2 separate regions of the Homo sapiens genome follow, and region 1 is linked to region 2. The links are contacts of gene promoters, found by promoter capture Hi-C in human tissues and cell types (Jung and others, 2019). All regions are on one chromosome and are shown on one strand. Each heading gives the region's core, a stretch centred on a gene start or on the middle of the fragment in contact. The rest is flanking DNA. Distances are from core to core; before and after follow the strand shown.

Region 1 (2,700 bases), core at 104-2,603, 100 kb before region 2:
CGAGGTCAGGAGTTAGAGACCAGCCTGACCAACATGGTGAAACCCCCTCTCTACTAAAAATACAAAAGTTAGCTGGGCATGGTGGCACATGCCTATAATCCCAGATGCTGAGGAGGCTGAGGCAGGAGAATCGCTTGAACCCGGGAGGCAGAGGTTACAGTGAGCTGAGATCGCGCCACTGCACTCCAGCCTGGGTGACAAGAGTGAAACTCTGTCTCAAAAAAAAAAAAGAAAAAGATGGGTAATAATGAACTTCACTGAGCTAAAGGAGGATGTTGTATCCCATTGCAAATAAGCTAAGAATCATGATAAATTATACAGGAGCTGACAGAATAGCCAGTTTAGAGAGGAACATAACTGACCCAATGGAACTGGAAAACACAAGAACTTCACAATGCAATCATAAGTATCAGTTACAGAATAGTTCAAGCAGAGGAAAGAATTTCAGAGCTTAAAGACCGTCCTTCTGAAATTATACAGGCAGACAAGAATAGAGAAAAAAGAACAAAAAGAACTGAACAAAACCTCTGAGAAATATGTAAAGAGACAGAATCTATGACTGATTGGGGTACCTGAAAGAGACAGGGAAATTGGAACCAAGTTGGAAAACATACTCCAGGATATCATCCAGGAGAACTTCCCCAAACTTGCAAGACAGGCCAACATTCAAATTCAGTAAATACAGAGAACCCCAGTGAGATACTCCATAAGAAGATTTACCCCAAGACATATAATCAGCAGATTCTTCATTGTCGAAATGAAAGAAAAAATGTTAAGGGCAGCCAGAGAGAAAGGCCAGGTAACCTACAAAGAAAAGCCCATCAGACTACCAGCGGACCTCTCAGTGGAAATCCTACAAGCCAGAAGAGATTGGGGGCCAATATTCAACATTCTTAAAAGAATTTCCAACCCAGGATTTCATATCCAGCCAAACTAAGCTTCATAAGTGGAGAAATAAGGTCCTTTTCAGACAAGCAAATGCTGTGGGAATTCGTCACCACCAAGCCTGCCTTGCAAGAGCTCCTGAAGGAAGCAATAAATATGGAAAGGGAAAACCTTTACCAGCCACTACAAAAACACACTGAAATACACAGACAAGTAACACTATGAAGCAACCAACAAAACAAGTCTGTAAAATAACCAGCTAGCATCATGATGACAGGAACAAATTCACACATAACAATACTAACCTTAAATGTAAGTGGGCTAAATTCCTGAATTAAAAGACACAGAATGGCAAGTTGGATAAAGAGCCAAGACCCATTGATATACTGTCTTCGAGAGACCCATCTCACATGTGGGACACACATAGGCTCAAAATAAAGGGATGGAGGAGAAATTTATCAAGGAAATGGAAAACAGAAAAAAGCATGGGTTGCAACCCTAGTTTCTGACCAAACAGACTTTAAACCAACAAAAATCCAGAAAGACAAAGAAGGGTGTTACATAATGGTAAAGGGATCAATTGGACAAGAAGAGCTAAGTATCCTAAATATATATGCATCCAATACAGGAGAACCCAGATTCATAAAGCAAGTTCTTACAGATCTACAAGAGACTTAAGACTCCCACACAACAATAGTGGAATACTTTAACACCCACTGTCAATATTAGATCATCGAGACAGAAAATTAACAAAGATATTCAGGACCTGAACTCAGCTCTGGATCAAGTGGACCTGATAGATATCTACAGAACTCTCTACCCCAAACAACAGAATATACATTCTTCTCATTGCCACATGGCACTCACTCTAAAATTGATCACAAAATCAGAAGTAAAACACTCCTCGCAAAAGCAAAAGAACTGAAGTCATAACAAACAGTCTCTCAGACCACAGCACAACAAATTAGAAATCAAGATTTAAAAATTCACTCAAAACCACACAACTACATGGAAACTGAACAATCTGCTCCTGAATAACTCTTGGGTAAATAATGAAATCAAGGCAGAAAGCAAGAAATTCTTGAAACTAATGAGAACTAAGAGACAATGTACCCGATTCTCTGGGACACAGCTCAAGTGGTGTTAAGAGGGAAATTTATAGCAATAAATAACCCACATCAGAAAGCTAGAAAGATCTCAAGTTAACAACCTAACATCTCAACTAAAAGAACTAGAGAACCAAGAGCAAACCAACCCCAAAGCTAGCAGAAAACAAGAAATAACCAAGATAAGTTATTGGTTAACAGAAATAAGCAATAACTGAAGGAGATAGAAACACAAAAAGCCCTTCAAAAAATTAATGAATCCAGGAGCTGTTTTTTTGAAAAAATTTATAAAATAGATAGACTGCTAGCCAGACTAATGAAGAAGAAAAGAGAGAATAATCAAATAAACATAATCAGAAATGACAAGGGAGATATTACCACTGACCCCACGGAAATATAAACAAACATCACAGAATACTATAAACACCTTTATGCACATAAACTAGAAAATCTAGAAGAAATGGATACATCCCTAGACACATACACCCTCCCAAGACTAAACCAAGAAGAAACTGAATCCCTGAATAGACCAATTATGATTTCCGAAATTGGGGGGTAATAAATAGCCTACCAACCAAAAAAAGCCCAAAGTTGGAAGCATTCACAGCTGAATTCTACCAGAAGTACAAAGATCTGGTACAATTTCTACGGAAACTATTCCAAAAAATTGAAAGTGAGGGATTCCTCCCTAATTCATCCTATGAGCCCA
Region 2 (2,700 bases), core at 20-2,519:
AGTGACACAAATAATAGTGATGGTGACAATAAAATAACAGTAAGAAACACAGAAGGAGCGTTTCCTTGGACAAAGCACTCCAGAAACAACAACAAAAAGGGGCTGCCTTTCCATCTATTCTATGAATCCCAGATGTCTATTTTATCACTGTCTGTTCCTTTTCTGTTCTCCCTGGCAGGGTTTTTACAGCCCCTGCTCTTTTTCTAGATTATGCTGCATCTTCACAGTTTCCCCTAAATGACTCTGAAGAATTATAGACAGTGCTGTCTACAATTATAATAATGGATATGGTGGTCCATTTCCAAGACAAAGTACCTCAGATAGGCTGAGGCCCACAAACTATGGAAGGACAGAATATACTAGGCCCATAGCTGGTGCATGCTTGTCGGGGTCCCCTTAGTTACCCTCTCCCAAACCAGAGTTTAGTCTAGAATGAAAGTTTACTAGCCAGCAAAATAGCTCACTTTATCTATTCTTATCAGCTTGCCTGACTGCCTAGGTCATAAGTCAAATACTTGAAAAGCCCTCGAGCTGGCTTTGATTGCAATGTATTATAGGCTGCAACAAAATGCAGTGAGACAATCCTAAAGAAAACACCTAAAAGCCTCAACCCAGCAACCAATAGGCGACGTCTGGGAAGATCGTGACCCCATCGTACTTAGCCTACGAGGAACCAGGGGAGAGACTTGTGCACTAGGGGATAAATAGCTTGTTGTAACCGTACTGGGTGTGCCTGCCTACCAGACATTCAATCTTGCAAGACCATCATTAAAAGTCTTGCTTCCACTGTTTTCTGTGTCTCTGAGTCCATTCTTTGGGTTTGGACGGGTGCGTTTGTTTCTCATAGTGCAGGTCTGGAGCCGGACTGAGATGGGGAGTAGAGGGACCCCTTGAAACTTCAGGGTGGATGAATATGAAGTTTCATCACCAGCTGTGATGTTTGGTGAGTAGTATGCTCTCAGATAAGTGAGAGCCAAGGAATCTCTTTCAAGTCTCTTTGCCGTGGGCAGAGTTCAAAGAATGACACTCACTCACGGCTTTGAAAGGTTCTAGGGAAGCCTTTACTCTGAGATTTCGAGAGGTCTGAGAAGGTAGCAGTCACTTGGAACAGGTCCAGGAACATCTTACTAAGCTGTTGATGCAGTTTTTTCTTATGCTTTCTGTGGCTTCTCATGCCCCACCCTTTCCAAGAGGCCAGTGCTTCTGGGCACCTCCCTAAATGTGGATAAGTTCATAGCCTACATAAGTCCCTGTATAAAGTCACTGACCCATTTGCACTGCTGCTGTCCCATCAGCTGCTCTGAAGCTCCATGGTGCCCAGAATCTTCGGTAAGGTAACCCTTGCCCCAGGTTGAGCTAATGCCTACTGTTATCCCTAATGTACCTCTGAACCTCAAACTTAATTCTCTCTTCCCTATTTAATTCTTGGTTTCCCACCTCATAATCACCCGTGTCCTCTCTGACTGCATTGCAATCTCTCTTCCCCACCTGCAAATTCCAGAAGCTTAACCCTTTCCAGAGCCCTCCCTGCATTTCCTCACCTGCCAAGCCCAATGCCCAGAACCTGCACACAGAGTCAGTCCCAAAATCTGCTCTGAGCTGTTACAGCAACCAAAGAAACTCAGAGACATCATCTTGTGCCCCATGATCATGATCTGGTGACCCCAGAATCACTGTCATTCTTCTCTCAGCTGATCTTTATTTTTGAACTCCTGGGCTCAGACTCAGAAGGGACCATAGGTGAGAATGGGTGTGGTGAGTGGAGGGAGAAGAAAGGAGGGAGGATTATAGCACTGTGGATAGGGTTGGGGGCTCCCAGAGGTCCCCTGCCAGCTCATCAGCTCTGACTCTTCCAGATATTGGACTGTGGTTGTGCCAGTTGACACTCAGGAGTGGAGACTAGATCTGCAATCTGTTGGGACTGTGATGAGGGGATCATCCTGCCCTCGAACCAGACCCAGCCCTGTAGCCCAGGCACTATTGCCTGGAGTTCCTGGGCTCTCAGCGCCAGGAAATCATGAGGTTCAGTGTCTCAGGCATGAGGACCGACTACCCCAGGAGTGTGCTGGGTAAGTAAGGGCAGCCCAGGCAGTGGACTGAGTTTTGTTGTGTGTATTCCATCAAGATGAGCAATGCCTGCTGTGTTCACTAACTTCTTTTTGGGCAACCATCTCTCTCTCTCCCTCTCTCTCTTCTCTCTCTCTCTCTTCTCTCTCTCTTTCTCTCTCCCTCTCTTTCTCTCTCCCTCTCTTTTCTCTCTCTCCCTTTTCTCTCTCTCTCTCTTTCTCTTTCCCACTCACCCCTCACCCTTTCCACCTCTCCCCCTCTTCCCCTCTCCCCCTCCCCCTCCCCTCCCCATCTCCCTGTGTCCCTCTGTCTCACATCCCCCTCTCTTCTCTTCCCCTCTCCCCTCCCTGTCTTTTCCCTCCTCTCCTTCCTTCTCTTCCTTCCTCTCTCAAGTTGAAGGAAGAGTAGCTCAGTCATCTTCCAGAATTGCTTTTTACCTCCGAGTCACCTGGCTCCATAGCCCCCGACCACCGCATGCCCATTTAGCTGTTCCTCTCTTTCCCCTCTACCCTCACCCTTGGCAACCACCAGTCAGCTTTCTGTCTCTATGGATTTACCTATCTGGGACATTTCATATAAATGGAATCACACCATTTATAAGTGACCTTTCGTGTAACTTTTTTTTTAACTTAA

Evidence for each region. Contacts are between HindIII fragments. The study calls those that stand out against the background at their distance.
Region 1: a fragment that was not itself captured here is called in contact with the fragment with the promoter of IGFL2 in region 2 in 2 of the 25 tissues and cell types used here (mesenchymal stem cells and pancreas).

The regions. Positions count from the first base shown.
Region 1 is chr19:46,045,226-46,047,925 of GRCh38, forward strand. It overlaps a transcript of IGFL4 not described here. Among named protein-coding and RNA genes, the nearest start is that of IGFL4, 5.6 kb to the left of the region's middle. The HindIII fragment of the contact is 3,232 bases long and covers 1-2,700 here.
Region 2 is chr19:46,146,969-46,149,668 of GRCh38, forward strand. It overlaps IGFL2 (IGF like family member 2), which reads left to right and starts at 1,270. Exons shown (of 4, transcript NM_001135113.2): 1 at 1,270-1,329. The coding sequence starts at 1,311. The HindIII fragment of the contact is 7,392 bases long and covers 1-2,700 here.